Linked DNA regions of Homo sapiens: all the other regions are linked to region 1. The links are contacts of gene promoters, found by promoter capture Hi-C in blood cells and fetal thymus (Javierre and others, 2016). All regions are on one chromosome and are shown on one strand. The core of a region is centred on a gene start or on the middle of the fragment in contact, and the rest is flanking DNA. Distances in the headings are between cores, read along the strand shown.

Evidence for each region. Contacts are between HindIII fragments. The CHiCAGO score rates a contact against its expected background, and 5 or more counts as called.
Region 2: a contact is called between a fragment that was not itself captured here and the fragment with the promoter of SETD9 in region 1, in 4 of 17 cell types (fetal thymus, monocytes, non-activated CD4 T cells and 1 more). The highest score is 6.0, in fetal thymus.
Region 3: a fragment that was not itself captured here is called in contact with the fragment with the promoter of SETD9 in region 1 in 5 of 17 cell types (naive B cells, non-activated CD4 T cells, monocytes and 2 more); the score reaches 8.2 in naive B cells.
Region 4: a contact is called between a fragment that was not itself captured here and the fragment with the promoter of SETD9 in region 1, in 9 of 17 cell types (monocytes, naive CD4 T cells, total CD4 T cells and 6 more). The highest score is 11.5, in monocytes.
Region 5: a fragment that was not itself captured here is called in contact with the fragment with the promoter of SETD9 in region 1 in 7 of 17 cell types (total CD8 T cells, naive CD4 T cells, naive B cells and 4 more); the score reaches 8.8 in total CD8 T cells.
Region 6: a contact is called between the fragment with the promoter of IL6ST here and the fragment with the promoter of SETD9 in region 1, in 5 of 17 cell types (naive B cells, neutrophils, total CD8 T cells and 2 more). The highest score is 6.9, in naive B cells.
Region 7: a fragment that was not itself captured here is called in contact with the fragment with the promoter of SETD9 in region 1 in 1 of 17 cell types (activated CD4 T cells); the score reaches 5.0 in activated CD4 T cells.

Annotation. Positions count from the first base shown.
Region 1 is chr5:56,907,976-56,910,845 of GRCh38, reverse strand. SETD9 (SET domain containing 9) reads right to left here and starts at 1,250. Exons shown (of 6, transcript NM_153706.4): 1 at 1,103-1,250. The coding sequence starts at 1,200. RefSeq lists enhancers at 1-589, 685-734, 1,525-1,614 and silencers at 775-984, 1,165-1,374. The HindIII fragment of the contact is 6,770 bases long and covers 1-2,870 here.
Region 2 is chr5:55,915,189-55,918,058 of GRCh38, reverse strand. It overlaps IL31RA (interleukin 31 receptor A), which reads right to left. Exons shown (of 15, transcript NM_139017.7): 15 at 1-1,415. The coding sequence ends at 939. Among named protein-coding and RNA genes, the nearest start is that of IL31RA, 65 kb to the right of the region's middle. The HindIII fragment of the contact is 5,310 bases long and covers 1-2,870 here.
Region 3 is chr5:55,937,465-55,940,334 of GRCh38, reverse strand. IL6ST (interleukin 6 cytokine family signal transducer) reads left to right here. Exons shown (of 17, transcript NM_002184.4): 17 at 1-2,870. Among named protein-coding and RNA genes, the nearest start is that of IL6ST, 56 kb to the left of the region's middle. The HindIII fragment of the contact is 3,697 bases long and covers 1-2,870 here.
Region 4 is chr5:55,954,761-55,957,630 of GRCh38, reverse strand. It overlaps IL6ST (interleukin 6 cytokine family signal transducer), which reads left to right. Exons shown (of 17, transcript NM_002184.4): 9 at 340-422; 10 at 1,396-1,606; 11 at 2,639-2,821. Among named protein-coding and RNA genes, the nearest start is that of IL6ST, 39 kb to the left of the region's middle. The HindIII fragment of the contact is 4,335 bases long and covers 1-2,870 here.
Region 5 is chr5:55,971,428-55,974,297 of GRCh38, reverse strand. All of the region lies in intron 3 of IL6ST (interleukin 6 cytokine family signal transducer), which reads left to right. Among named protein-coding and RNA genes, the nearest start is that of IL6ST, 22 kb to the left of the region's middle. The HindIII fragment of the contact is 6,726 bases long and covers 1-2,870 here.
Region 6 is chr5:55,993,558-55,996,427 of GRCh38, reverse strand. IL6ST (interleukin 6 cytokine family signal transducer) reads left to right here and starts at 1,465. Exons shown (of 17, transcript NM_002184.4): 1 at 1,465-1,644. IL6ST-DT (IL6ST divergent transcript) reads right to left here and starts at 1,261. Exons shown (of 2, transcript NR_102755.1): 1 at 874-1,261. RefSeq lists an enhancer at 912-1,423, cis regulatory regions at 1,012-1,685, 379-2,697 and a silencer at 1,255-1,734. The HindIII fragment of the contact is 8,053 bases long and covers 1-2,870 here.
Region 7 is chr5:56,229,857-56,232,726 of GRCh38, reverse strand. The region is part of intron 2 of ANKRD55 (ankyrin repeat domain 55); the gene reads left to right. Among named protein-coding and RNA genes, the nearest start is that of ANKRD55, 2.0 kb to the left of the region's middle. The HindIII fragment of the contact is 2,795 bases long and covers 128-2,870 here.

The sequences.
Region 1 (2,870 bases), core at 1-2,500:
AGCCAGAGGCAGAAACGAAGTTCAGCTCTTTCCCGTACTACACCCAACAGCCAAGCTGAATGTCATCACAATGAGAATGAATGACCTCACATTCAATGGCTTTTTAAAAATGGCCTTGTAGTTTCAAAGACAAATTCAACATCGTATACTTTGTGACACTCCCTCCAGGACGACTAACGTCTTCAATGACTGCACCTCTTATTTCCATAATCATTATCTTTTTGTACTAACTGCATTATTTTTACTTGAACAAAAAGGTTGTAATTCCCGCCTCACGGTTCCGAGTCATGATACAACTGATCTCCTGTTTCCCTAGCATGCAACCTTCCGGAAACCGCTTTGTTTCCCTATTTGTCGGACACTGACTTCAGGGAGGCCCGGTCGGCCTCTTTGGTGAGCACGGTGTTGAGCTGATCACTGGTGCGCCCTTAATAACGCCGGCGGGACTCACCCCAATCCGAAACCCACCATCCCGACGTGCTTTTGAGTGGCGTTCTGCCCGTTCTTAACGCGCGAGCTACTGCACGCTATTCTCACAGCCGGGATGGGCTTCTTTAACCACGTGAAGTACTTGTATGAACTATGAAAATAAACCCTGGCTTGGCTTTTCTGAGGAAGTTCAAGCACCTAATTAACCCCTGGTGGAGAAAAAGCCACGCACTCTCACGCGGTAAGGGCAGTCTTTTTAAAAAGTTTCCATTTTTGCCCAGATACAAGCTCCCCAGTCAGTGCCGAACGCAACAGGGAAGAACAGGCGACACATCCGGCTGGCGAGCTCGGCCTCGCGGGCCCGGCAGCGCAGCGGACACTGGGAAAGAGGCCATAGGCCCCGCCCACCTGAAGCCACCGCCCACTTCAGGCTTCCAGCGGGCCTCGGACTCCACCAACCTCGGCCCCGCCCGCCTCTGGCCCGCGTTCCTTAAACCCCTCCGAGGCCTCAGTCCCCGCCCACCCGGCCCGCCCACCTCAGTCCCTGCCCACCCGGGCCCGCCCATCTCAGGCCGGCAGTCAGCCTCAGGCTCTCCGCTTTGCGTCCCGCCGCCGTGGTGGCGTCTGGGAACCGAAGGCAGGTGCCCCTCGTTCTGCCGTCCCGCCCTCTCACCTCGGGTTGTGGCTTAGGTTCAGTGCGATCCAGGGAACGAAGCGGTACTTGTAACGGCGCCATCGCTGCCACAGGCCCCGCAGCAGACGGCCAGGCATGGCTGCCCCGCGGGGCCGTGACCAGGACGGCGCGGGGAAGGCGGATCGAGGCCTCGGGCCCGCCCCGGCCCGGGAGGAGAGGGGGCCGCGCTCGGCCGCCTTCCCCTGGCTCCGCTCTCAGTGTTCCTGGCACCGCCTGACTTCTGTTGCTCTGGGGCTTCGTCCTTCCCCTTTCCTGACCTCACCTCTCTGAATGAGAGGCGCGTAGAGCTGGAAGGAGGTCCCCTTGACCACTTTTTCTTTCTCCGGTCGCTCGGGTGCTTCCGTGGGCGCACACAAGCGCTAGCCCTGGTTGCGGGCGAAGGGTCACCGGGCCTCAGGGGCGAACCCGCCCCCGAGACCGCGTCCCAGGAGCGGACCGCCTAGTTTCTCTGTCACGGCTGTCTGGCCTGCCCCTTTGTCCCGGCCGCGCTCTGTGTTCCATCCTCCGTCCACTTGAGCTCTGCCTCTTCCTCGACGTTCTCTCCCCTTCTCTCCGTGGCCCCAGAGCAGCCCGACTTCGGGAACCCGAGTTTCAGTCCTCCCCAGACAGCAGCCCTTCTTCTGCGTGAACCCGTGTTCCCAAAGTTACCAGTTTGGGCGTTTTGCGAATATTTACACGTAAAAAAACAAAGTGTCATGATTCCCTGTTTTCACTCGTTTTTCTCTTCATTGACCCAACCATTCAAAGGCAAAACTACATGGACAAATGTTTCTGAAAAACAGCTTTGTTGAGGAATGGTTGGGATACAATAAACTGCACATATTTAAAGTGAACAATTTGATAGGTTTTCGACACCACAGCCAAGATAGTAATCCAGCCCCTCCCCCAGTCCCCAAGCAACCACTGAGGTGCTTTTGTCCTTTTAATATGGTCTTCGCTTCAATTTGGAAACGTTTTGTCTAGAAGTTCTGCATCTGTGTTCGTGAGAGATATTGTTTCGTAGTTTTCTTGTAGTGTCTTAATCTGGCTTTGGTATTTAGGCTAATGTTGACTTCATAGGATGAGGTGGGAAGTAGTCCCCCATAGGTGAAATTTAAAAGGAACTTTACGACCGCTCCTCCCCAACACCCAGATGCATGCACACGCACACACATATTTAGAACAGGTTTGGACAAAGTTCAGTTTTAAGGGGGGCAAACTACAGGAATCCCTTAACCATATTCAAATCACCAAGTGTTTATTGACAGATAAATACGTTGGTATCATTTCCTCTATTCTTTGCCTGAGAGTGAGGTTGGATCCTAAACTATTGAAATTGAACGGCTCAGATCTAATAAAAACTCAGCCAAGGCCGGGCGCAGTGGCTCACGCCTGTAATCCCAGCACTTTGGGAGGCCGAGGCGGGTGGATCCCCTGAGGTCAGGAGTTCGGGACCAATCTGGCCAACATGGCGAAACCCCGTCTTTACTAAAAAAGAACAAATACAAAAATTAGCCGAGCGTTGGTGGCACGTGCCTGTAGTCCCAGCTACTCAGGAGGCTGAGGCAGAAGAATCGCTTGAACCTGAGAGACGGAGGTTGCAGGGAGCCGAGATCCGCCACTGCACTCCAGCCTGGGTGACAGAGTGAGATCCCGTCTCAAAAAAAAAAAAAATTCAGCCAATCGCCAGTAGCTGCGGGACTAATTTGTTCTATTCTGAAAGAAATAAAGAGAAAGAGTATCTACCAATGTCTCTATTTCGTTCATA
Region 2 (2,870 bases), core at 144-2,643, 990 kb after region 1:
GAGCAGAAGTCCTCCTGTTGGGGCTGCAAATTTGCTAGGCATTGCATGTTCCCAGGCCCTGCCCTGCTGCTTCCGGGAAGAGGCCTTTTAAGTAAGCATTCCTGGGCTCTGAACCAGTGTGAGGGGCCAGCGTCCCTATATGACAACCACTGCAATGTCAGGTGCCTTTCTGCTCCCAGGCTGGGTGCTGAATAGAAGGGCAGCAGCAGCTGGGAAGTGGCCCCCTGGAGACTGGACAGAGCTGCGCCCGGCAGCATACATTCCCCAGGGCCCTCCCCATTCCTTGATTTTTTAGTAGTCAATGCAGTCTAAATTGGGGGTGAGGATTCTCAGGTGCGGTGTTGCTACAGGCACTTGAGATCTAAGAGGATGTGAGGAGCCTCAGACAACCCCTTAGGAAGGTCCACTCCACCTCCAGCCCCAACTATGGGGAGAGAGGAAGGCTTCAGGGCTACCTTGTAGGGGAAGACCAGAGCCCAGGCTCCCACCAGACCACCCAAGAGCCAACAAAACAACTGTCCTCTGGCAGCAGGGAAAGGCCTTCTGGAACTCTGAGGCTCAGCCCCAGCAAAGGCTGGGACCATGACCCAATTCCTGGGAGGCCAGATATGTCCACCCTGGGGGTCCTTTGGGCTCAGAACCTGGGCCCTTCCTTCAAAGTCAATCTGTCAGGAGGCCTCGGTGAGAGCTTGGTATCTGAACAAACGAAAAGAGACTGCTGTTCCTTTACAAAACTCGGGCTTATCACCATCCCTTCTTCCCAGTACAAGGTCGCATCTTTGCCGACCAAGTTCAACTGGCAGCTCAAGGGGCAGGGGAAACTTTAACCTAGGCAGGATGTGGCAGGGCCAAGCAAGCGCTGCGTGCCGAGTCTTGACATCTTCTCTGGCAAGGGCCATCCACACTGAGGCCCCGAGGGTCTCATGCTATGGTCGCATTTAGACTTCTCCCTTGGTGTGCTCTGGAAGTTTTTCAGACACAAGAAATTCCCTGGCTGTCACTGAATTTTTCAAATATGGATTTGGGGCTCCTTCCTCACACAGATGATCTGGTACTAAACTTTGACCAGAAAAGAGAAGCTGCTCTTTGGCTTCTGGGCGGGTCCCCTCTGGCATCCTCGAACGTAGGTATTGGGATTTTCTGGGCGGAATCTCAGGTGAAACTGGGAGCTCCTCAAAACTTTTCCCCAGGGGACAATCAGGCCTGAAGGGGCAGGTCACATACCCATTCTTTTCCCCTCCTAAATTGTTTTCCTGACCCGTTCTGGCTTCATCTGTGAAAATTTCTTGCAGAACATTCCCAAAGTTCACCACCAACTTGTCAATCACCAACTTGTCACTGGGGGTGGAACATGGTTTTAAGATCCTGTCTTCTGTGTTCACAGAGTCATCAGACTCCTTCAGGTTTAGCTTATCCTGGAAAAGAAAAAGGGACATCCCAAGTGGTCATTTAGGAGTCACATATGACATAGCCAAAAACTCGTTAGGCTTGGGACAGCAAATGCCCATCTCTGGAACAGCCCCCACCTTCCTCCCAGGCCCAGAAGTGGTAGCCAACCCTCTCTGCATGCCCTTCCACAGAGCTTGGAAGGAGTGGCACATTTCCTGAGAAACAGTGCCCTGGATTCAAACAATTTTTAAAATTTATTTATTTATATGTATATAATTTTTTTTTTTTTGAGACAGGGTCTCACTCCCGTTGCCCAGGCTGGAGTACAGTAGCATGATCACCACTCACTGCAGCCTCAACTTCTCAGCCTCAGGTAATTCTTCCCCCTCAGCTTCCTGAGTAGCAGGGGCTACAGATGCACACCACCATACCTGGCTACTTTTTAATTTTTTGTAGAGATGGGGTTTTGTCATGTTACCCAGGCTGGTCTTAAACTCCTGAGCTCAAGCAATCCCCCCTGCCTTGGCCTCCCAAAATGCTGGGATTATAGGCATGAGCCGCTGTACCCAGCCAATTCAAACAATTTCTTCTGCTAGAGTGTGCAAGGCTATTTTCCACACAATCCCATGTTCACAAAACCCCAGTTAAGATGGAAGAACTAAAATTAGAACTCTTAGGGATGGAAAAACCACATCATAGAGACAGACTTGTTCAACCTCACCAGAAAATCAGAAGTGGCCTCATGGCAGGGACAGTGACTTTGTCATTTGTATCCCTAGGGCCTAGCCCAGCACCTGGCATGTAGTGAGTGATTAATAAGTGCCGGCTCTAGAGGTCCAACCTACGGATTATTCAAAAAGCATGTTAGTTATCAGAGAGCACTGCCTATGAATCCATTTACTCTCTAAATGACATTTAATAAGCAGGAAAGTAAATGGGGGTATAAATCAGTCCAGTATACCGGACTGATAAGAGGAGGAAACAGAAAGAAAGCCCATTATAACAAAAGGCCCATGCTCAAAAAAGACTTCTGAGTGGGAACGAGGACTAATATTTAAAATTTGTGCATCAAGGAAAAACTGGAAACAGCCTTTCAGTAACAAGGATTTAAAGGTTATATTTGATTGGGCTTGTTTCTACGTAAGCAAGAAATTAAACCTTAAAATTTCCCTAACGGTTTTCCACTTAAAAATTTATGCAAATGGAGGGTTTCTAGTTAAGGAATACTCACTAGAAAACCCCAATGCCAGTTAAATAAAGCCTGACTCTGACGTCCCCAGCCTGAGAAAAACAACCTGAGGCAGCCTCAGACTGCCATGCCCATCAACATTCCCTGGTGATATTTAGACAGTCTTTAGATTAATGTGCTCTTGGCTGCTTTGTAAATGGCTTCAAATCCTATAGCCAAGGCTCCTCTCTCTCTAATTAGCCCATCAGGTCAGGAAGGGTAGGGCCAGTGTCTTTATTCTGCAGCATCCTTT
Region 3 (2,870 bases), core at 127-2,626, 970 kb after region 1:
GAGTGCCATGATAAGAGCTAGGGATCCCCCAAACTATCTCAAGCATCTAAAAAATTGCCATTTTTAAAGGCTTAAATTGTAGTAGTAAAGGGGAAAACAGGAAGTAGTAGTAAAGGGGAAAAAAAACCAATAAAGCATCTAAAAAATTGGCATGTTAAAAGGCTTAAATTGCTAATGTGTGTATATATATATATATATATACACACACATATCATTGACTTTTCTTAAGACTTCAGAGTACTGGGTAGATGAACACTTTATACAGTATATATCTTCAGCTTAAATTTGTTTTGAGTATTTTTTTTATTTTTAAATAAGTAGGCAAAGATTTAAATTTTTTTATTTTTAGTAAATGTTTGAGGCACACTAAGACAACTTGGGCAATATTTGCCAAAACAAAACAGAACCCCAAAAAATGTACATCTTGTTCTTAGCAAATATCATTATTGTAGAGACACTTAATAAAGAGATGGTATTTTAATGTCTGCAGTTCTGAGGTAGGGTGGAACTTAGTTCTACATTGTGATTTAGGAATTTTTAAAACCTTTTTTCTTCAAGGGAGAAGTGACCCAGGCCTCGAGTTTAGTGCTAAAGCCGCTAGTGTACTTATGCTGTCCCCTAACCACCACGTGCGATATGGAAGCAGATGCTAAATATAGGGGTTTTCTTAGAAAGTAAGAGGAAATTAGCAAGCGTTATTAGTGATTGACTACTGCTATCAAGTGAATTCAAAGGAAACAGGTTTTTATGCCATATTTAAGTTACAGAAACCAGGCATGCTTAGAATAGTTTCTAGAGGTTATTGGAGAATAGAAAGCTAAGAAAACTTGGTATACATTTACAATGGAAATATAATTACACTTTTTACTCTCAGAATATTGTTCACATTAGACTTCCTGTTTATCTTTTATATTCTTGCATTTATATAATGCCTCATCCTTTCAAAGTTCTTTCACATATTATATGATCTTCTTTATGAAAAAAATAGATGTTTCATTCTGATATATTCAGTTTCCCACTTTAGGCAAAAGTAGATTAATAGAATGACGAATTCAAAGTAGATGAGGAAAATCAGGCACAGAGAAGTAAAGGTAGGGATAGACCCAAATTTACACAACAAGATAATGACATCTCCAGCTTTTAAGTTGATCATCAAAGGCTGGGCTGGATTTGTCTTGCTGTATGTGTCAGGAAATTTATACCTATTACATTTTCCATTTTCTCAAAATTTAAGTCACATGACTAATATTTAGCTGCAACTTTCCTCATAACAAATAGTGTCATGAAGAATGTTGTAGTGTGAAGTTTGTACATTTCAGGGTCAGATATACAATATGAACTCTTAATCTACAGGAATGAGAATGGAGGATCATTGAAGGCCATGATATAAACAAATTTGCATGTTGAAGCCTGTATAAAACATGGTACAGTGAGTGAATATACCCCCATCCCCAAGAACACTTTATACATATTAAATGGATATATGATTACTGTGCAAAAATTCATTCTGGAAATGAACATATATTTGAGCACTAATATGTAATGTACACCTGCCCTAAGGAGAAAATAAATTATAAAACTTTTTACATTCAAAATTACTTTCCCAAGCATGTCTTAGAATAATCTATGTGTTGATGCATGTAAATTGTACTTTAGGTAGGCAAAGAAATCTGGTTATTTATGTAAAAACTAGTCTAATAAAGTTAGTTAGTGGCTTTATCACTTTAAATCTTTAGTGTCCAAAAGTGGTGTTTAAAGTAATAGCACATCAGAAAACCTTGTCTGGACAAAACTAGTTCACTCACTGCTTCTGCACCTGCAGTTGCTCCCTTTAGGGTTATAAAATAATGACCCAAATGTTACATGTGTTGATATTATAACTTGTCAGTTACTGATGTCTGTGGTATCCTACCCTCATCTCTGAAAGGGATAATACTGAATAATTATTAGAAAACTATAAAACTTCACACTTTGTACCATTAAAACCTAAAATTTTAATCTTGTCCTTTTTTACTATGGATCAGTCGGCACTCGGGAACAGCAGCAAGGAAAAAAAGCAAATTTCATTCACATGTTCTGTGTTCATACCTCTTCTCTACCTAATTGTTCATTTAAATTTCAGCCTTATTCCTTGATAAGGGATTTTACCACATGAAGTCATCCAGTGACCCTAGCTCTTATTGTGAAGTTAGTGGAGTATACTTAGAAATGTTACAACTTTAAAATGTTACAAAACATTCATTAAAGCTCATATTTAAAGTAGAGCATCTAGTTTGAGAAATAGAAATCAATTATTAAAGATGTCTTTTTTCTACCCATTTAACTAGTTAAAACCATGACATGTAAATGTAGAAGTAGAATAATCATAGAATTCCCTAAAATATTTCTGTTTACTAACATATATTGACCAAGTACATCAAGCAGGAGAGATCTTCCTTCATTCTGTTATAGTCCACATCATTCTAATTTTGCTCAGTTGTTATTAAGAGCATATTCCTAAACCATACACTTTTGTTTCAATAAAGTTTTATTTTGTTGAGATGAATAAAATAACAAAGTTATAAGCTGCATAAGACAAAAGTTCAATTGTTCAAAAAAAATTTACTGGGATAGCTTTCTATTACAGGTATTGTTAGATTATATTGTGCTGATAAGATTACTTTCTAAAAAATTTGTACTTTTCTGTAAATTAAAAGAATATGGAGTCATAAAATGGCAAGTGTTTTAGGATTAGCCTAAAATTGGACATTGTCATTGATTTCAAAGAAGGTATGAACTAGCAGTCTTACAGCCTAATTCTTCTTTGGACTGGTCCTTGGCAGCAGTTCCTTTTCAGACTCGATAAACAGAATTCAGATGATGTAAGTCAA
Region 4 (2,870 bases), core at 125-2,624, 950 kb after region 1:
GATTCAAGTAGATAAATACAGTGCCAGCACACAAACAGAATAAAGAACATGAAGTTATAAGAAAGAGTGATGCCTCTTTAGTTGTTGCTCAGAATACATTTTTACCTTTACAATTTTGAGGTTAGAAAAGAGTTCCAGTATAATTGATCAGGCTATCACCCTGACTAAAGGAAGAGCCAGGTGTTTTGTGCTGGGTTGGGAAAATGCTGGTATAAAGAGGTAGAGACACCATGCAATTGGAGGGCAAGAGTATTAAGAACAAAGTAAAAGAATAATTTGCAGAATTTTATTTTACTGTTAAAACCTTTTTATTTTAAGGAGTTTATGTCTTTTCTTTAGGACCATCTAAAGCACCAAGTTTCTGGTATAAAATAGATCCATCCCATACTCAAGGCTACAGAACTGTACAACTCGTGTGGAAGGTAAAAAATCACATTTATATTTTATCTCTTATAAATCTTTTTTTTTTTTTTTGAAACCGAGTCTCGCTCCATTGCCAGGCAGGAGTGTAGTGGCGTGATCTTGGCTCACTGCAACCTCTGCCTCCCAGGTTCAAGTGATTCTCCTGCCTCAGCCTCCTGAGTAGCTGGGACTACAGGTGTGCGCCACCACGCCCCGCTAATTTTTGTATTTTTAGCAGAGACAGGGTTTCACCACGGTGGCCAGGATGATCTTGATCTCTTGACCTCATGTTCTGCCTGCCTCGGCCTCCCAAAGTACTGGGATTACAGGCATGAGCCACCGCGCCCAGCCCTTATAAATACATTTTGTATGGTATTATGAATGGAGGTCTTTTAAATAGATAAATTTTTATTCATTTTAATAGCAAAGCATTTGATTACTATTTTTACTAAATAGAAAGGTAATGCTTTATATGTATTAATATTATATAGAAGTCAGGTTCATAAACTACAAATAATACCTTATAGGTATTTAAGTACAGTTCTGTGAAAGTATAAGTTCTATAAGAAGAGGAATGTTGTTTTTGTACTTTGGAATTTTCCAGAGTAACTCAGAAAATAATAAAAGTTTGTGATAATCAAAATGTATGCTGGTAAGTGCATGAGTAGATCATACTAAAAAAGAAGGTAGAAAAATACTCAAGCATAAAATAAATAATTTAGACCTACATAGCCACAGTGCAGAATTGATACAGAACCAAAAGCTAACGGAATGATGCTACTTACCCTTTTTTAGTTGAGGTCATGCTTTTACTCTTCATTTAGTATGTACTAGTTTTATTTTAGAACCAAATTTAAAATGGAGATTGTGAATCCTTTCCAGTTAAATATTTAGAGATTTGACATAATGGCATGATTTGTGAATATGAAGAAAAACTGATTTTTTATTCAAGATTTATGAGATTATTTTTAAAAATAAACTATTTTATTACAGACATTGCCTCCTTTTGAAGCCAATGGAAAAATCTTGGATTATGAAGTGACTCTCACAAGATGGAAATCACATTTACAAAATTACACAGTTAATGCCACAAAACTGACAGTAAATCTCACAAATGATCGCTATCTAGCAACCCTAACAGTAAGAAATCTTGTTGGCAAATCAGATGCAGCTGTTTTAACTATCCCTGCCTGTGACTTTCAAGGTTTGTATCTGTGAGATGGAGCCTGACTCTTGGGTGGAAAAATGGTGGTTAGGTATGGACAGGGCTCCCATAAAAAACACAAGTTATCTAAGACTGTCTCCTCAGTATCAGGGATAATCACTTGTTTATTTTTTAATTTTTTAAATTTTATAAATAATGATTTTCTTTTTTTCAGAGACTGGGTCTCGCCAGGTTGCTCAGGCTGGTCTCGAACTCCTGAGCTCAAGCGATCTCCCCTGGCCTCCCAAAGTGCTGGGATTAACAGGCATATGCCACCAAACCCAGCTAGTGATCGCATTTTTAGGAATCAGTCAGCAGACAAATTTCATCAGGATGCAAGAACATTTCCATCACTACATGCTCACTTAAACTTCACAGTAAGCTACTTCATTCATTTAAGCATATTCTGATTACTTACCTGGTTTTTAAAATATTATTTCAAGATTTTGAGAACTTTGTATACATATGACTGAAACGTTTATCTGTAGCTTTATTCGTAGCTTTCAAAGAAGAAAAATTGCAATTACAAACCGAAAGCATTTGAAGAATTTAGGGAAAGCAAATTTTTTTTTTTCTTTTTGAGACAGTCTTGCTCTGTCGCCTAGGCTGGAGTGCAATGGCACGATCTCAGCCTCTGCCTCCTGGCTTCAAGCGATTCTTGTGCACCAGCCTCCCAAGTAGCTGGAATTAAAGGCACGCACCACAATGCCTGGCTAATTTTGTATTTTTAGTAGAGACGGGGTTTCACCGTGTTGGCCAGGCTGGTTTCGAACTCCTGATGTCAAGTGATCCACCTGCCTTGGCCTCGTAAAATGTTGGAATTACAGGAATGAGCCACAGTGCCCAGCGGGGAAGCAAAATCTAAGTTTAAAAATTGACTACTTTACCTGTAAGTTATAATAAAGTGCTTTTAGGCAAGGAAGTATATGCTACAAAAATTGATAAATCACATGTTTTGGAAATGACTGTAAAATATGGAAATTTCAAATTTGTTAATATTTATTATTTCAATATTCAAACTTTGTTTTAAAGCTACTCACCCTGTAATGGATCTTAAAGCATTCCCCAAAGATAACATGCTTTGGGTGGAATGGACTACTCCAAGGGAATCTGTAAAGAAATATATACTTGAGTGGTGTGTGTTATCAGATAAAGCACCCTGTATCACAGACTGGCAACAAGAAGATGGTACCGTGCATCGCACCTATTTAAGAGGTATACCTGGCTAGAAACATCTAAATTGATATCCTTTTTCTAACTCTTT
Region 5 (2,870 bases), core at 275-2,774, 940 kb after region 1:
GTGTTTGGCCTACAGTAAGCATTATAAAAATGATAGTTACTGCATATTTATTATAAAGGTTATTGTTGTCTTTGAATAAAAGTTTCTTTATGAAAAAAATAAACGTAATATACCAAAACCAATCTGACTACAGTGGCACTCATACTTACTTTGATCTGAACATCATTTTTATAAAGTTACGTAACTATGTGGTAGCTGAGATATACCCTTGTTTCATGTTGAGCTAGTGATCAGTGAAAATTCTCAGGTGGTTTTTACATGAGTTACTCTTAAACTAGTTCTCCCTCACCCAATGTATATTTCTTATTACCTAAATAGGATATATTTCCTCTGTTGCTAATTTCATTTTATCAGTTTTAGCCTGGTGTTCTACTCTTTCAGCATAATTTTAAATCCCAACATTTTCATCCGAAGTGTTGGCAGTTGTTTGTAGTCCTGTCCTCTGCTAATTTGATAAGCATGTGTGTCTGTCTTTTCCCAAGTTGTTGATTAAAATGTTGAAAATAACAGGACTGCATTAGCTACCTGTTGCTGCCTCACAAATACTCCAAATCTTCAAGGCTTAAAATGATAATAATACCTCTCATGATTTGTATAGGACAAGACTATAGATAGGCAGGCACAATCAGACGTATTCATCTTTGCTGTACAATGTCTGGGGCCTCAGCTGCAATATTCAGACTGGGGGCTGGAGTCATCTTCAGACTCCTTCGCTTATATGTCTGTTGTTAATGGTATCTGCAGGCTGAGGGCTTTGCTGGGGCCATTGTCCAAAACACCATACGTGGCCTCTTTTTATGGCCCTGGCTTTCTTACAATGTGTGGCTGGGTTCTAAGGGCAGATATCCCGGGAGAGAGAAAGAAAGCTAATTGGAGTCTGTATTCTTTTAATGATCTAGCCTCTGAAGTCTCATAGCACACTCCATTGGCTGGAGTGGACACAAGGCACCCATACAGATCTGATGTGGTTGGGGGAAATGCAGTCCCCACCTCTTCATGAAAAGAGTATGCGTGACATCGTAAGAAAAACGTGGGATGGGATAAATATGTAGGTGTGGCCATTCTTAAAATACAGTCTTCTCCAAGGATTGAGGGCATGCACTTCAGCATATTCTACTTAAGACTATCCTCTAATTGACTTTTTTCTTAAGTCAGTTTTTTTATATATGGGTAATCAAATATAAATTTGAGTATGAACCTATAAAAGTAGCAAAATATCAGCAATTTCATAATGTTCATTGTAATATCGGTTATAGTATATTCTTTTTTTTTTTGCTTTTTTTCTTTTTTTTTGAGATGGAATCTCGTTTCGTTGCCTAGGCTGGAGTGCAGTGGCACAATCTCAGCTCACTGCAACCTCTGCCCCCCAGGTTCAAGCAATTCTCCTGCCTCAGCCTCCTGAGTAGCTGGAATTACAGGTGCAGGTCACCACGCCCGGGTAATTTTTGTATTTTTAGTAGAGACGGGATTTCACCATGTTGGTCAGGCTGGTCTAGAACTCCTCATCTCAGGTGATCCATCCACCTCGGCCTCCCAAAGTGCTGGGATTACAGACGTGAGTCACTGCGTCCAACCCAGTTATAGTGTATTCTAATTCACATTTCTTCATCTTGCCCTATAAACATTCAAAATAACTTTATCAGATACCTTTCTTAATTAAAATACTTTCTTTTTACAATTTAATCTCAGCCTGGTAGCCCTGTAAAATGGGATTAATTTGACATGGGATGGTATTATTGAAGCTGTGTCTCACTTTGAAAAACGGAACATTTGCCCCTTTTTTTTCGAGACTGAATCTCACTCTGTCGCTCAGGCTGGAGTGCAGTGGTGTGATCTTGGCTCACTGCAAGCTCCGCCTCCTGGGTTCACACCATTCTCCTGCCTCAGCCTCCCAAGTAGCTGGGACTACAGGCGCCCGCCACCACGCCCGGCTAATTTTTTGTATTTTTAGTAGAGACAGGGTTTCACTATGTTAGCCACGATGGCCTTGATCTCCTGACCTCGTGATCCACCCACCTCGGCCTCCCAAAGTGCTGGGATTACAGGTGTGAGCCACTGCGCCCAGCCCATTTGCCCATTTTTAATATTTCTCTTATTCTGTGTGATTAAAAATTATTCATACTGAGTCTCTAATTATATCTTTTTAGAACTCTAGAGTATATTTCATATTTAACATCCCTATGATTACTTTAGAGAAAGTATAACAAGTGATTTTGCCAAAGAATAAAGTGATGTCTAGGGAATTGTAAGGTCTGACCCAGTATCAGAGAGTAACTTAGTAGAGATTCTCCACTGGATGAAGGACCATGCTATTGGAAATTGAGAGTAATATATGCACTAAGATTTACAGTAGGCATTTATAAATAACAGCAAGATGATATAAACAGACCACATTATAAGTTTGAAACAAAGAAATACACATTCCAGCTCTGGGTTTTACAGGCTTTGTGAGAGGTCCTGGGATTCCATTTGGGGATACAATTTTGACTGCAAAAACTGTTTTTAATTTTTTCTGGGCTCACTGCAGCCTTGACCTCTTGGGCTCAAGCAATCCTCCTGCCTCAGCACACGACCCTCACCCCCAAGTAGCTGGGACTACAGGCGTGTGCCACCATGCCTGGCTAATATTTATATTTTTTTTGTAGAGATGGGGTTTTGCCATGTTGCCCAGGCTAGTAATTTTTAATCTCAAAAACACTTCATGGGTAACTACCCAGGAACCCCACAGCAAATAGGATTCATTGAGGAAAGCCACCTTAAAATTGTGGACATTGAAGCTAGAGAAAAAGAATAAAATCATGTCAAATAGTTGGGACTTTTATCTTGGTAGTAGGTAGCCACTAAATAATTTAAAGTAGACAAATGTCCTA
Region 6 (2,870 bases), core at 216-2,715, 910 kb after region 1:
AATTGGCCAGGTATTGTAGGGGCACCTGTAGTCTGAGATACTTGGGAGGTTGAGGTGGGAGGATCGCTAGAGCCCAGGAATTTGAACGTGCGGTGAGCATGATCCAGCCACTGCACTCCAGCCTGGGTGACAGAGTGAGACTGTGAACAACAACAAAAAAATCAAGTTTCCTGGATCTATACAAAATTTTCAATTTAACAAATTTTTATAAAAATTTGTTTTAAAATAAACACCCCTCTAAATGGCAAAGCTAGAACAGAATCTGGTCACAATCTATAGGTTAGATATAGGATGACAGGGAGGAGCAAGAGCTGAACACATCAGCTGCAGCACCATCTACTTTGCCTGCGACTCCGTTAGCAGGCCCACTTTGCCCTTTTATAAATTATCTGATCAACAACTAAGAGATTAAAATTCGATCTATGTTTTACTCTATCTGAATCCTCAATATAATGAAGAACTTTATAATTGTTAATTTATGGATATAATTTAAGTTCATTAAACCATTATTTCCTTCCTATATCCTCTCATTCTTCCACAAAAACCTCTACCTTTGGGTGTTTACTTTTACAGACACCCACGCACACACCCCACACGCACGCACGCACATGCCTTATCTTTTAACTCAAGATTCTCATCTTCCTTTGGGGAGAAACAAACATCATGAGCCTTGAGGTCCATTTTCTGAGGGAAAGGGGGGGGCGGAGGCGGGATGAATAGGTTTTTACCCGGTATTTTTTATCATAAACGGGGAGGTACAAACCGCAAAGAAACACTAGTCGCTTGGTGGGCCACCACCTCTGGGGCTCACTGATCAATCGCACCCAAACTCATTTACTAATTTAAAAAAGTACTGTGGCAAGGCTCGTTTACGTAAGTCTTGGAGAGAAGCCGCCGCCACAATCTGCCGCAGTCTCGTGCGGAGTCACGGCCACCGAGCTCTTCACTTTCCCCAAGAGGCTCCCACGCCTTCCCCATCCCCAAGGGAGCTAGGCGGTCCCTCGCGGCTCTGAGTCCCTCGGGGAAGGCCGCGAAGAGAGGCCGCAGGCGCCCTGGCGAGAAGGGAGGGCGGGGGCAGCGGGCGGCGGGCAGCACCCGGGCTCCAGTTCATGACCCCGTTATTCCACAGAAAAATGGAACATTCCGCTCTTTCCGCCCACAGAGGGGAGGTGGGGGGAACCCTTCGATCTAGTCTGGGAGAGGCGACGCGGACGCAGCCACCGGAATCCGGGACGCGAAGAGCCGCGTTACGGGAATCGCTACCCCTCGGAGTCCCGCCCCCTCGTCGACAGGCGGCCACTGGACCAATGCCTGGGCGCAAAGGGTCTCTCAGGGGCCAATCAGCGCCTAGGTCCCGGTAGGGGGCGGGGCGCAGCGTTGGCCGGCCGGGGGCGCAGCTGGGCGGGATTGGGGAGCGCCCCGCCCCGCCGCGGGACTGGGGTGGCGCGCTACCTCTGCGGAGAAGGATCTGACAGTGTTCCGGAGCCGGGGCGAGCAGCCAAAAGGCCCGCGGAGTCGCGCTGGGCCGCCCCGGCGCAGCTGAACCGGGGGCCGCGCCTGCCAGGCCGACGGGTCTGGCCCAGCCTGGCGCCAAGGGGTTCGTGCGCTGTGGAGACGCGGAGGGTCGAGGCGGCGCGGCCTGAGGTGAGGAGGGGCCGGGTGCTGGGTCGCGTAGCTGGAGTTAGAGTGTCGGTGGTTTCGGACGGGCTATCTGGCACTCGAGGAGACCTCCCTTCCCCCTGAGAGCAGCGCCCGGAACTTGTCAGCCCAGCCTGGAAATCCCCACATTCCTTCCCCTTCCTGCTCCCGGACCTCCGAATTCTACTTCCACAACTTTGTCACCTCGATTATCGCAGCCCTGAGTACAAACTTCACCCAGGCGCACGCACGCACCCCTCTTAACGCCCGCCCCGCAGAACGCCCTTCAAGAACAAACCCCCCTTTTTGTTACCAGATCCCACGTTTTTCCCAATCCCCTTTTCATCTCCCCTGAAATTCTATTCGCTCCGCACTTGTCTTCATTCTCGAGGTGGATTTCCCTTCCCCAAAGCCGTTTTTTCATCTTGAAATCGTAACGTTTCAGCTTTGTTGAAAGTTCACAATGCTTATAAACACTATTAACGTTTCTTTCCTTCTTTTGATCTTTTCTATTAATAATTATCATTCCTAACGAATTCCACATCTCACTGTATCCCAAGGAGAACAAATCAGTTTTTAAAATTTTACCTCCTCCGACCTAAACTTTTGAAGATAGTGCAGGAAGCAAGGGTCTGTTCTTCAGTGGATGAACAGCATTTTATTTCATAATCCGAAACTGAAAAAAAAAAAAAATCACAGGTTAAAAATAAGACGTCACCTTTTTTTTTTTTTTTTTTTTTTGCCTTCAGAAGGAAACGCATTTTGGCTTAGTTTGTGAAGTATTTCAACAATTATACTGCCTTAAAATAACTAGTTATTAGAATGCCAGGGTGAATTTTCTGAAAGATTGTGGTATTTGCTTTTGACAGTGCTGTAAACAAACCCTTTAAACTGTGTATGACTGCCAGCTTCAAGTTGGAACAACTCTTAATTTGAAATTACGGACTCAGATCATCAGTTTAGCTGTGTGCCATTATGTTAATTTCTTAAATTCATGTTAATTCCTATTTGGAAGTATTTTTGAACTATGAACTGAAATATTACATTTATAGAACCAACTTGCTATTAAATTGTGCTTTCCAACTATTTCTCTTTAGGGATAATCTTGAACGTTTGTTTTTAATCTTGAGTGAAAGAAAAAAATTACAGGAAGGAGAAAGTGTCAAAAAGGACAGACTGTAGTGGGATTTTTTTCTTATTTTAAGTATGTATTGACAATACCAGTTTAATTT
Region 7 (2,870 bases), core at 276-2,775, 680 kb after region 1:
TGAGTATTTGCTATGTAGGATGTGGAAAGAGGATTTCACCTAGAAAACAAACCTGTTCAAAATGTTCACTTCTAGTTTGATAAGCATCTGAAACAGAAAAATAAGCTTATGATCTGTTGTATAAGCTTATGATCTTGTTGAAGTATTCCTACCTTCAAATTTTAAAAACTGGATTTCAAGCACACCAACTATTTCAGATAGTGTCATCTTTATTCTGTTTTTTCCAAATCTTTTTTAAAAATTAGGGTAAGCAATGTAAGAACACATCACATTTTTTTTGTCATTCGATTAGCCCAGTATCTCATTGCTGTATCTTCGTAAGCATTTTTTTATTCCTTTCAGGAATAGATGTTGCCTGTATTTATGTCGGGTTGATATGTTATCTCATCCAAGGTTGTGTAATGACATATCCCTATGCTATTATTTGCAATGCCAGGGTATATCTTCCTTACTTATAATTTCTGGAGTGGAGGTAATTTTCCACATCAAAATGTTGCTGTGAGATCAACTTATCCTTATAATATCACATATTTGGCCATGTGGTCTATGTGTATACATTTTGCATATGCAATGTGTTTATATACATCTTCGTGTAATACTTATGTGTAATAGTAAATCTTTTTTTAGTATAAACATGAAATTTCCATTTTATAAACATAATAAATATTTTTTAGAATCTTTTCTTAAATATCTATTATTTAAACCACTTTCTACAGTCTCTGAATATTCTTCAAGATCCTAAGTTCCTTTGGTGATTTTATCTGTTTTGGCTACAACATGAAATGGTGGTTTGAAAAAGCCTCATTAAGAAAATGTACTGCTTCATTCTTTTTTCCCTTTTCCTGCTCTAGGCCATAGCATGTTTATTACCCCTCAAGCTACATCTGGCTTTGTGGGTGAATTATTTTAGCCCAGGGGGTTTCTCCAAAAATAAATTTATATTTAGATTCCTGAGTTAGCTAATGTATATATGTGTATAGTGTGTTCTCCAGGTCTTAGCTCATTTGGAATAGTGTTTGTGTATGTGTATGTGTGTGTGTGTGTGTGTGTGTGTGTGTGTGTGTGTGTGTGTGCGCGCCTTCAGAACGTGCCGGCTCATACCGTGTTTGGATCTGAACAGCATAGAGAAAGGCGTTGTCACAGCTGTGCCCACCACCATCCTCTCCTCCTGGTACATTTTATATCACTGATGGCAGTCAGTAAAAGTGAAAATCTGCTAAGAACCAAAGAGCTCACACTGGCTGAAAAATGATGTTGCTAAGCCACGAAACATACAATGGGTTTATTTTTGAAGACTAATTGGAGGGAGCTGGGACTGACTGAAGAAGAACTAGCTCTTCATAATGAATTTACATGTTCCAGTGCTGTACCTTCTAACAGGATTGAGCCCCAAACATAGTTAAGATACAGAATTACAAGACTGATTTTCTTTTAACACCTTTCATGTGAGCAATTCACAGCAATTCCTCCACCTGGGCCGGATTCTCTCCCATGGAAGTTAACCCTCTCCCTGCCATCTTTATCTCTATTTCTCAATCCTTTCTCTCTTTCTAGAGGTTTTATCATATGATGGAAAGAGCATGGGATTTTAAATCTTATAGACGTAGATCAGAATGGCAGATCATCTACTTCTTAGCTGTGTGACCTTGGCAAGTTACCTAACCTCTCTGGGCCTTAGTTTCCCCAGGAATACAATGAAGGAAATGATGCTTACCTAGCAGGGTTGTTGTGAGGATCTAAAATAATAACATATAAAAAGCACCTGTTAGCAATGCCTGATATTCAATAAGTATTTTCCCATTTTGGCTGCAGCTGTTATTATTATTGCTGTTGTTATTATCACCTTGGACTGGGAGTTTCTGAAGTGCAAAAGACTACTCATCTCTCTACCTTCAGCCTGAATGTAGCAGTCCTCAGATCAAATGAGGGCTTAGTGCTGGATGACTAAATTACATTAATTATTTTTTTCAGAACCCTAGGATACCATTTATAGCAAGACCTAGAATAATAATTAACTAAGCCATTCCTGAATAGTTTTATTACCCATTAATCCTTCCTCTTTCTTAAAAGCATGAAAGACCATGAGGGTTGAGACCATTATACAGATTTTAAATACTATATTGTTGGACAAACCAAAGGGAGGTGACTTTCTCGGGAAAAGTTGAACATGGGGCTTTAGTTGAGGGTTTTTCATGAATCGTTACTGTCTGGATAAGTGAACCCTAGCAGTACTGTCTTTACATGCAGATGGGGACAGAAGACATTGCAGCTGGAAGAATCTTAGCAATCAAGTAACCTGTTGGTTCTCACATTGGCTGTACTTAAGAATCATCTGGGCCGGGCGCAAGGCTCACGCCTGTAATCCCAGTGCTTTGGGAGGCCGAGGTGGGCAGATCCCAAGGTCAAGAGATCGAGACCATCCTGGCCAACAGGGTGAAAGCCTGTCTCTACTGAAAATACAAAAATTAGCTGGGCATGGTGACACACGCCTGTAGTCCCAGCTACTCGGGAGGCTGAGGCAGGAAATCGCTTGAACCTGGGAGGTGGAGGTTGCGGTGAGCTGAGATCAGGCCACTGCACTCCAACCTGGCGACAGAGCAAGACTCTGTCTCAAAAAAAAGAAAAAAGAATCATCTGAAGAAATTCTGAAAATGCTGATGCTTGCATCCCACCCAGGGAGATTCCAGTTTAACTGCAGTGGTTGGCCCAACCAACACTCCTTGGGAAGTTCTCATGGACAGCAAAGATGCAGAACCAGTCATCCAACCTACCCCTCTTCCACATTTCAGATGAGGGAACTAAAGCACAGAGAGGTTCAAAGTTGGGTCCTTCCTAATAATAATAACAACACCCCACTAAATAGCAACAGA